3 separate regions of the Homo sapiens genome follow, and regions 1 and 2 are each linked to region 3. The links are contacts of gene promoters, found by promoter capture Hi-C in blood cells and fetal thymus (Javierre and others, 2016). All regions are on one chromosome and are shown on one strand. Each heading gives the region's core, a stretch centred on a gene start or on the middle of the fragment in contact. The rest is flanking DNA. Distances are from core to core; before and after follow the strand shown.

Region 1 (3,339 bases), core at 278-2,777, 160 kb after region 3:
AAGGCGCCTTAAACCTCACCTCAGCCCCATGGTGCAGAAAAGAAAACCGAAACTCAGAAGATAAGTAACCAGTACCTGGGCCTCGCCGCCAGGAGGCAACAAAGTCAGGATTCCAGCTCAGCTCCGACACCTGTGGCCTGGCTTTTAACAGTTTAGAGGGAGGCTCACAATTAAGAATAAATGCAGAAAAACGTTTGCAGCGGAGATAAAGAGTGTTGTGTGAACCTGAGGAAGGAGGGAGAACCTGCTCAGCTGGAGGCGAGTCTGAGGAGTCTTCCTGGGAGAGGTCCCCTTGAGCGGGGACCTGACCGGGTGAGTAGCAGATGGCATCCCCGGAAGAGGGGACCAGGAGGGCCGGGGTGTGGAGGGAGGACAGCAGTGATGTGGCTGCTCCTGGCAAGAGCTTAGGACGAGATATGGAGAGGAGACTGACGGGAGCCACAGGCCAGCTCTTCCAAGGCAGGCTAAGGATGTTGAGGTGGTTCTGCGGCGCTGGGGAGCATTGCAGGCTTGTGTGGGAGTAGGAACAGGTAGAGGAGGGGGCCTGCATCCGCAGTGCCGGGAGCGGCGCAGGTATCGGGGCAGGGATGGGGGATGGCTCTCGTTGCCGGCATATTATTGTGCGGTCCTTCGGCTAAGGTGTTAGCAGAGCTGGTGGGGGCCAGGTTGGTCACACTAGTCTCAGAGAAAGGCCTGAGGGGCTGGAAAGCAAGTGCAGAGGTGGGCTATTGGGACACTGTTGAGTGTCACAAGGACATGGGTTCGAGTTCTGCCTCCACCCTGACCAGCTTCAGGTTTCTAAGAAGTTGATCTTTGTTAGGTTTAAAAAAAAAGAAAAAAGAAAAATTCAGGAAAAGAGCCAGGTTTGGGGAGAAGATGCTAATCCCCGTTTTGGACAAGTTGAACTAGGGTGCCTATAGGTCAACTGCCCAGGCAGTTGGGAGCGGGTGGGGAAACCTGCCCTTCCAGAGCCTTCCATGATGGGTCTGCTGTGCTCCCGTCAAGGGTGGGACATTCCTCTATGAGAACACACATCAAACCGTGGAGTGCCTCGGCTGTCAGGCCTGCCTCCCAGCCAGACTGCACATGTAGAGAAGTAGAGGGAAGCTTACCTGAAGATGACAGTCCCGATGATGATGATGATGATGATGACGATGGTGATGATTGATCATGATGATGTTTTAAGAGCAGGGAGGCTGTTACCTTTTCTTATGGGCTGAAATGTGTCCCCTCAAAATTTATATTAAAATCCTAACCCCTAGTACTTTAGACTGTGACTTTATTTGCAAATAGGGTCATTGCAGACACAATTAAGATAAGGTCCTACTGGAGTAGAGTGAGCCCTTCATCCTATATGACTTAGTATTCATATAAGAAGAAGAAAAAACAGAAACAAACAGGGAGAGGGCCAAGTGGCCACGGAGGCAGAGATTACAGTGATGGAGCTGCAAGCCAAGGAACACTGCGGAGCAGCGTCCGAGGCTGGAAGAGGAGAGGCAGGGTCCTCCCTGCAGGCTTCAGAGGGAGTGGCCTCGCTCATACCTTGATTTTGGACTCCCTGACTCCAGTACCATGGGTGAATAAATTTCTCTAGTTGTAAGCCTCTCAATTGATGGTAATTTGTTATGACACCCCTAGGAGACTAATAGATGATCATGTCTGTATCCCCAGAACCTGGCACATCATGGCATTGGAGAAGCAAATGAATGAATGAAGTTCAGAGAGGGAATGCAGGAGAACTACTCAGCCCCACAAAGTCAGGTGGAATGTGGCTCTGCCCGCCTCCCCAAAGAAGGCTCTGTAGCCAAGAGCAGCAACAAATAGGCTGAGGGAGACCTGGGATGGTGCCGGTCTCCACCAGCTCACCTCCCTTGGTCTTGTCACCCAGGGCAGATCCTGATGTGGGGAGGGAGAGAGCAGAGAGCAGAGAAACCCTGGGGTTACCAGTGAAGCTTGTCTCTCACCTCAAGGGTGTCCTCTCCCTTCCTTGCTTTCTTCCACCACCACTACCCCATCCTCTCTGCAGTATCTCTGCGTCTGAGCATCAGAGCTAGGGTGACATTTACCCACCCTTTGGGAGTGGGTCCCTGGAAAGGTGCCAGGTGGAGCTGGAGGTTGAAGCAAGTTTCAGGGCATTGACAGGAAGAGAGTGAGGGAAGCCCTGGGTAGCACTAAGAGCATGGCTATAATGGGTGTTATGAGCCCAAACTCCTGTTCAGATCCTTTCCGGAAATTACTATTGGTGTGACTTTGGGAAAGTCACTCGACCCCTCTGAGCCTCTCAGTTTCTTTACCTGAAAAATGGAGGTATGTCTACTACCTTTAATATTGTCATAAAGATTAAATGAAATATATTTGGCATGAAATCGTCACCACCATCATTATCTTCAGTGGTGGCCAAGTGTCTCTAGGGAAGACAGGAGTGCAATGTGGATGGAAAGGTTTGGGGAGTTCCCAGACCACCCAAATCTGTGAGCAGGATGGCACTGAGAAATGCAGAACATGCCCTGGGGATGGGGGCAATTTTCTACAGTCTGGAGGATGTCTTTCAATCCTGGCTTCTGTGCAGAGCTGAGCAGTGTCCAGGGGTGGACGGTCCCCAGCCAAGCATGAGGAGGCCCCTTTGTGGGAGCCAACACCATACAGGGGGACAAGTTCAGATGTCAGGGCCCCATCAGAAGTGGGGGGCACAGAGTTTAAACCACCACTGAAAATAGGCAAGGGGACCCTTGTTGGAAGGAGTTTGCTGGGCATGAGAGAGGCCACCAGTGAGAGTAGGGGCAACCCTGACCTTCAGGGTCAAACCACATAAGGCAGGATTGCCCTGCAGCTTTTGGTTTTGGTGTCTGGCCAATTGCCAGTAGTCAGTGATGGAAGATGCCATTTCCCAAGTACTCTGCTGACTTCTATTGCGACAAATTATTTAATTAAATTATTATTGTTGGGAGGGCATTAGGGACTCGAGTTTTACTGAGCTAAGGAGTGAGTGCAGTGGGTGGGGGATAATGAAAGAAGTCAGATTGGAAGGAGGGTCACGGAAAACAAACGTCCTTGACAAAGGTGGGCGGGGCTCATGCAAATGAGACAGTCTAGGGAGCATTTCCTGCTACTTCCTGCTTTCTGGAAACTGCTTAGAAGGCTGAGTAGCTGAGGTTGACCTGAGAGCTTGGTTTTGCCCCAGAAACACACAGACAGCAGAAAGGAGACGGCAGAGGTTCAGGGGTAGCCAGGCCACCGGGCCACTGCAGGCCAGGAGTGCAGGCGCAGCCTGCGATAGCAAGGATAAGCTTCAAAGGCAAAGGTGAGGCCCTGTCCTAGGCACCCTGGGGCCTTGCTCTT
Region 2 (3,808 bases), core at 1,135-3,634, 150 kb before region 3:
GGCTGAGTTCAGCCAGGTGGACTGTGGCAGTGGGGCCTCAAGGAAAGGGCTCAGTCAAGAGGTGACTGGAGCTGTCCACCAGGGCAATTTACACAAGGAATTTGTGCCTTGTGACTATTAAAAATTATTATTTCCATTTGTTTTGTAAACAGGAGAGATGACAAGCTCTAAAGCCCAGAATTTCTTTCTTGTTTTATTTAAAATCTATTAAGGAATTAAGAATAGCAATATAGTTTGGATATTATTCCCCTGCAAATCTCATGTTGAAATTTGATCCCTTAGAAGTGGGGATTAAAGCGAGGTGTTTGGGTCATGGGGGCCATCATCCGCCCATCTTGGCCTCCCAAAGTGGTGCCATTCTTGAGGGATTGAGTGAACTCTCACTCTCAGTTCCCTCAAGATCTGGTTGTTAAAGAGTCTGGCACCTCCCTCCTCCCTGTCTTTCCTCCTCTCTTGTCACATGATGCCATCTCTTATTCCCTTTCTGCCATGAGTGGAAGCTTCCGGAGGCCCTCACCAGAAGCAGATGCTGCTGCTATGCTTCCTGTAAAGCCTGGCAGAACCATATTGCCCAGCCTCAGGTATTCCTTTACAACAATGCAAAATGGACTAAGACAAATAGTGTATACTGCTGCACAACAATGTAAATGCACCTAATATCACTAGGCTGTATACTTAAAAGTGGTTAAGATGGTAAATTTTGGCCAGGCACGGTGGCTCATGCCCGTAATCCCACACTTTGGAAGGCTGAGGCGGGAGGATCACTTGAGGCTAGGAGTTCAAGACTAGCCTGGCCAACATAGTGAAACCCCCATCTCTACTAAAAATACAAAAATTAGCCAGGCATGGGGACACATGCCTGTAATCTCAGCTACTCGAAAGGCTGAGGCATGAGAATTGCTTGAACCTGGGAGGTGGAGGTTGTAGTGAGCTGAGCTCACACCATTGCACTTCAGTCCGGGCAACAGAGTAAGACTTCATCTCAAAAAAAAAAAAAAAAAAAAAAAAGACGGTAAATTTTATGTTATGTATATTTTACCACAATTAAAAATTTTGTTTTTAAATATATTGGGGAGAAAATGCTCAGAGAATAAATAATTCATCAGTAAATAAGAGATCAGGGTAGCAGGAAAGAAAAGAGGTACAGTATCTGACAGGGGCCACATTTAGCCCCCTTTTGGGACAAGAGGAAATGAGGAAGAGAGGGCATAGAAAGAGCACTGGCCTTGCAGTTACTTGGGTTTAAAGCATGGTTCTGAATTTGAACTATTCTGTAACCTTCATAAGCTTCAGTAACACTTTCTGTACAATTGGGATAATAGTACCACTTTCTGCCTATCATAGGGAGGATGTAAGGAATCAAACCAGACAGTGAAATCAAATAAGTAATACACTCTGAGTATACCCATTTTGTAAACTTTACCTCTCCACATTCCAAACAGGTTCAATTTGCTGCCAAGTCAAGCTGCTGCTATGAACCAGCCAGCTCTGACCTACCCATTGAATTTCATCTCAAGACACAGAACATTTGATTTCAAACCATAGAGTGAGGAGGTAGACCAGGGAGGAAGCAGCATCTGTATAGCACGTTTCCTTTCTCCTCCCACTTGCGGGCACTTGGGAAAGCAATCTGAGTGTTCCAAAAGGTCACACACTGTCTAGGCCATGTCAGTGGTGGCTATTCCTCGCTACAGCTGGTAAATTGATATTTAATAGATTTAATAGTTTTTCATTACTTTTAAGAGTCTGATAATGGAAACATTAAATAAATGTAACATATATAAATATAAATACAAAAGAATTGTGTGCCTCTTTTGCATGTGGAATTTAAGAACAAGAGCTTCATCACTGCTGGGTCTGATATCAACATTGCCTGCTTAAAACATAGCAGTGGCTTACAAGGATCTTGACACTACACAGGATGGATGGCTTTTGGTAACATGGAAACTGGTCATCCTGTTTATGGATGGCTATTTTTCTGCCCTCCTTTCATCCCCTTTTCTCAGACAGTTCTATTGGTGAACATATTCACCAAAGTAGAGGAAGGGAGAGAAGATGAAAAATCATGTAGATGTTACAAGTGCTGTCTCCAGCAAGGCTTAGATAAGAGGATTGAGATCATTGCACACCATCTACAAATGTCAAATATTTGTATTATTCAGATCCCCATTATGGCAGAAAACTGCTGAGTTATCTCCTTCCCTAGTCTTTATCTAGAAGGATGGTGTTTCTCACTGTATGTACTTGGGACTGCTAATGGCCCATGTGGATGAGCCAGGAGTTAGTCTTACAGTATTAATGATTATGACTTAGTTTCTTGGCTTGAATAGATAATTCATTCATCATTGCTTGACTGTACAAGACCAGTCCTTCATCACTGGGTGCACACACAAGTGGCTGTTCCACAGTGTTCCCAGGAGGCTTAAAGACCCCTGATTCCATATTTTGCCTTCAGATATCTGGGTTGGGGCCTAGTTTTCATGACTGGTTTAGACTTTCTGCAACTAAAGAGCTTAATCTTTGGTTCTTGGACCTCTGTGGATTTTGGTGGCCTCCAAAAGAGGAGTTGTGAAGGTTTCTCTAACAACCCTGACTCCACGGGTTCCTTACAGTCTCAGCCAAGTTTCCATCTGCCCCATCTCCCCCAGCAGCCAGTGGGAGAGGGTCTGACACCTGTGTGTTTATGAGAAAGTGGCATCATCTCGGTGCCTCACGGAGAGCTATGCCAGGCAGCTCCTCATTGCAAAGATGTGGTGTTTTTAACTAATACGGTATAACCTAGATATCAACCAGGGTCTCAGGACCTTTTCAGAGTTAGATAAGATTGATTCAAACATTTTCCCATTGGTTGTAGAAGTACAGAGCTGTGGCAAGATTTATCTGAATTCCTGGAGGTTTTTTAGTATCAACTCTTCTCTAAATTAGTTTCTTTGCCAAGTTTTGTTCTCCTCTCTGCATCTGGCAGCTGTTCTTCATTTCTGCTGTTCCTTTGATCCAACCCAGGGTCACAGAGCTTTCTTCTGCTTTGCTACTGCGGTGGGTGGCAGCGGAGACAGAGGGAGACTCTGAGCCCTCCCATTAAAGCCCCTCTTCCAAAGCCTTGAGACGCAGAGTAGGCTTCCAAGCACCCAGTGGGAGGGACTCAGCACACAGAGAGCGCTGCTGAAAGTCCTTTTCAAAAGCCCTACCTGTCCTTGCCATCAGCCTTTTCACTCCTGATTCTGATGAGGAGTTTAAGGGTTATGAAACCAATATTTGGGTATCTTATTTGCATAGTTGCCTCTCAGACTGCCCCCCCACAACCACCACATTGGAATATCATAATTAGTGTGTCTTATTCAGGTATGGGGTGGTTTTAGGGCCCGCACCTCACAGTCGTTACCGCCTCCAAGTCCTGGCTTGAACCTCAAGTTGATCTTCTTCTCTTTGCAAACCAGCTGAATGACTGCAGTTTGGAAGACAGAACTTGCTGGGGGGAAAGAAAAGCTTGACTATGTGCTGTTAAACACCCTGCTTAGAGAACATTCGTTTGTTGAGTTCCAAATAATTCAGCAAAGAAAAACAATCTCACTGTTTCAAAAATGTAGTTTCATTGTTGTAAAATGAATTATTTGATTAATGGCAGTATTTTAGATTTTTTAAAATGTCTTAATTACTTACTATTTTGAACTGAAATATTATTATCAAAAGATTTTGTCCCACTTAAGAGGCAATGGCTTGTCTCCCAAGGGTTGTGCAGAGGCACCAGTGGGATGTTAATAACCCATGGTCATTTATATATTTATTATTATTTATGATTACAACTGTA
Region 3 (3,783 bases), core at 32-2,531:
ACAACCAAAGTACCTTCCGCCTGTGAGAGGTACTATTTTTGCTGACCCAGTCCTTGGAATTGAAACCAGATGCACTGGTCACATTGGTTGGGGATGAAACTTCAGAGAACACTAAACGTCCAGGGTCAAAGTATTCAACGATATCACCGCATGATTTGCTTAATCGAATACTCTAGCTCTAGGTATCCACTATAATGCAGAGGGCTCTTTAATCTTTAACCAAATTGTCATTTAGCAGTGTGATGCAAAAACTCTTCTGGGTTTTGGGAAGCAGCCCCCATTTCCCTCCTTCGTAATGATTAGACTTAATATTACAAAAACTTATCCTTGTTTACTCACAGCGCTAAATGTGCAAAGGAGCAAACCTGTATTTGACCTATGCGAACACACAGGAGGGTGGTGCGTGCCCTCTGCTAGGAGCACAATGCGTCGCTGGCGTTATTAGAGGACATCTCTCTGAGCGGAGCAAAGGTAATACACTGGTGGAAGAAAAGAAAAGGCCGAAAGTGGGGACAGAAATTAAGACGATCCCATTCAGTCTCCTCTGGAACGTTCTGCAAAATTCCGTGAGACCCTGGACCTACAGCGATGCACTCTCAGGGACTGCCCCGGCCTTCATCCCCACACCTCAAAGACAGACGAAAAGCAGCTGAGCAGATCTCGCCTCGGGCAATCCTAAACAGCCTCTACCAGGCACAACCAGTCCTAGGCCCCGGGCGGCAACCATGGTCCGGGGGCAGCTGACTTAGGACAGCCTCCCTGTGACCCGCCCTCGCCGGCACGGCGCCGGCTCCGCCCCTTAAGCCCCCTAAGTCCCGCCTCTGCGCTCCCGGGGCCTACCCCCGCGCTCATGGCCCCGCCCCCGCTTTTCCTACCCCATCGCGCCCTGGCCCCGCTCCCACACTCTATGACCCCGCCTCTCGCACTCCAGGCCCGCCCCACGCGCTCCAGGGTTCTGCTCTCCACCCATTTGTGCCAGGCCACGCCCCCACACCCATGGCTCCTCCTCTCGCACGCCAGGGCCTCCCCTCGCGCTCTCTGGTTCGTTCTCCACCCTCTTGAGCCTTGATGCCGCCCCCTCTTCCATGGCCCCGCCTCTCCCACTCCAGGCCCGCCCTTGCGCTCTCGGGTTCCTCTCTCCACCCACTGGTGCCAGGCCTCGCCCCGCGCCAGGGCCCCTCCCCCACGTGCCCTCGGGAGTCCCGGGGAGGAGTTGCCGCGCGGAGGAGGCGTGGCCGCGGTGCCTGCGGAGGCGCGAGCGGCGCGGCGCGGCGCGGCCGGGACTTTGGCTTTGACACCGACTGCGAGCGGGAGCCGTGCGGCTGGTGCTGGGTCTGGACTGGCTCTGGCGGATCCCCGCCCGAGTTGGGCGCAGGACTTTTTGCCGGGGTAAACGCAACTGCGGCGGCGCCGCCGCAAGCCCCGGTGCAGCCTCGGCGGCGGGTTTCGCCGCCGCTGCCGCCGCCTCCGAGCAGCCCTGCGGCTTCTATTCACTCTGGGAGAGCGATGCTAAGTTTCTCCCATAGAAAGAGCCGGGACACGCAGACCGAAGCGGCGTAGTCGGCTTCCAGGGCCTGACCAGTGACCCACACCCGCGCGGACGCCTAGGCTGGAGGCAGGGGGCCCGTGCTGTCCCGGGCTGGGCTCAGGCTTCCGAGCCGCAGGTGGAAGAGGAACCGGCGCCCCGCAGAGCGGCCGAGAGGTGGGGCGCGGGGACCCGCGGCAGGTCGGGTGGGGGGTCGATAAGCCCCTTCTCAGTGCCCGCTCCGGGGAGCACGGACTTCCCAGGTTGCAGGTAGCGCTGTGTCAGATGCGGAGCGTGGGGGAGGTGGAGTGGCCACCCCGTCTGCGCGAGCCCAAGTGTGGGTGACCCAAGTGTCAGAGTTGAGAGAGGCCTGGAGGAGAGGCATGAGGCTGATGGGGATAGGTCTCTTCCCAAGAGAAGCGGCTCGTAGCCTTTTTGGACTCCAGTGTGATAAAACCCGGACGTCCCTAGAGGAGAATCCACATGGGCCTAGCCTCATTGTGCCTGCGTTTTTAGGGGTTCACGGGCAGCCACCAGTCCCCGACTCCTGGTTACTAACTCTAGCACTAGGTAGGGGGTGCTAATGCAAATTTCTTAATTCAATGGGTTTCTATGTTTATTGATTTATTTTCTAGGCGGCCAAGTGAAAGGTAATTTTGGACACGCCAGGCATGGAAGATTCGGTGTTTGTCTATAGTAACCTCTTCAGTCCCTGAATCCTGCACCTTCCGTTTTTCTGTGCTTGTACGGCCTACTGGGCTTCCTCCCTAGCCAGAGAGCTCTTCTGCAGTGGTGCGGCCTTCCCGGGAGCCTGATCCTGGCGGACCATGGGGAGCACCCTGGGCTGCCACCGCTCCATCCCCAGGGACCCCTCGGACCTGTCCCATAGCCGCAAGTTCAGCGCAGCCTGTAACTTCAGCAACATTCTAGTGAATCAGGAGCGGCTCAACATCAACACTGCCACGGAGGAGGAGCTGATGACCCTGCCTGGGGTGACGCGTGCCGTGGCACGCAGCATCGTGGAGTACCGAGAGTATATCGGTGGCTTCAAGAAGGTGGAGGACCTGGCATTGGTCAGTGGTGTAGGCGCCACCAAGCTGGAGCAGGTCAAGTTTGAGATCTGTGTGAGCAGCAAGGGCAGCTCAGCGCAGCACTCTCCCAGTTCCCTGCGGCGGGACCTGCTAGCGGAGCAGCAGCCTCACCACCTGGCCACAGCTGTGCCCCTCACCCCACGTGTTAACATCAACACAGCCACCCCGGCCCAGCTCATGAGCGTGCGAGGCCTCTCGGAGAAAATGGCCCTCAGCATCGTGGACTTCCGCCGTGAGCATGGGCCCTTTCGCAGCGTTGAGGACCTAGTGAGGATGGATGGTATCAATGCCGCCTTCCTGGACAGGATCCGGCACCAGGTGTTTGCTGAGAGGTCCAGGCCCCCATCCACCCACACGAACGGGGGACTGACCTTCACCGCCAAGCCTCACCCGAGCCCCACTTCCCTGAGCCTGCAGAGTGAGGACCTGGACCTGCCGCCAGGGGGGCCCACCCAGATTATCTCCACTCGGCCGTCCGTGGAGGCCTTTGGAGGCACAAGGGATGGGAGGCCTGTGCTGAGGCTGGCCACCTGGAACTTGCAGGGCTGTTCCGTGGAGAAGGCCAACAACCCCGGGGTGCGAGAGGTGGTGTGCATGACACTCCTGGAAAACAGGTGAGGACAGGAACCACCATGGGTGTTGGGTGTGAAGGCAACTTGTGCGTGACCTCATCTATGGATGCAAATGAATGGATTCTTTTGCGGGTAGGGAGGGTGCAAGAGTTTTTAATCAATGTTCTTGAAGCCTCAGCCAATACCGTCACCTGAGAATGGGCTGTCCTTCTGCTCCAGAATTTTCTGAATACAGCTGGGCTTGTGACCCATGTCTTGAGTGTGAGATATCTGAGACTGATTCATAATTTTGGGGTAAGCAGAGGTTGTGTTTTTGTTACTGCTTTGGAGGATGCTGGGTCTACACCAAGTCAGGCACTCAGAGCATGGGAACTGGTGCAGTTTCGCATGTGAGAAAGAGCTCATTGGATTTTGTTTATTAATGGGAGGGAAAATCATATTTGTTCCATCAAATATGCCTATTTGTGCACACAAAATCATCTTAAAGGCCAAGTATTTGCAAACACATACAAGTGTCTATATTTACCAAAATGCTATGAATGAATCACTCTCCATTCTTTTTCCTTATTTAACCTGGAGTTGGTTTTCAGCCCTA

What was found. Contacts are between HindIII fragments. The CHiCAGO score rates a contact against its expected background, and 5 or more counts as called.
Region 1: a fragment that was not itself captured here is called in contact with the fragment with the promoter of EEPD1 in region 3 in 1 of 17 cell types (neutrophils); the score reaches 5.0 in neutrophils.
Region 2: a fragment that was not itself captured here is called in contact with the fragment with the promoter of EEPD1 in region 3 in 2 of 17 cell types (M2 macrophages and endothelial precursors); the score reaches 5.4 in M2 macrophages.

What each region holds. Positions count from the first base shown.
Region 1 is chr7:36,312,664-36,316,002 of GRCh38, forward strand. No RefSeq gene overlaps it. Among named protein-coding and RNA genes, the nearest start is that of MATCAP2, 53 kb to the right of the region's middle. The HindIII fragment of the contact is 845 bases long and covers 1,106-1,950 here.
Region 2 is chr7:36,003,905-36,007,712 of GRCh38, forward strand. All of the region lies in intron 1 of LOC105375233 (a long non-coding RNA gene), which reads left to right. Among named protein-coding and RNA genes, the nearest start is that of EEPD1, 150 kb to the right of the region's middle. The HindIII fragment of the contact is 2,199 bases long and covers 1,286-3,484 here.
Region 3 is chr7:36,151,973-36,155,755 of GRCh38, forward strand. It overlaps EEPD1 (endonuclease/exonuclease/phosphatase family domain containing 1), which reads left to right and starts at 1,282. Exons shown (of 8, transcript NM_030636.3): 1 at 1,282-1,702; 2 at 2,161-3,230. The coding sequence starts at 2,353. RefSeq lists a silencer at 694-1,413. The HindIII fragment of the contact is 12,213 bases long and covers 1-3,783 here.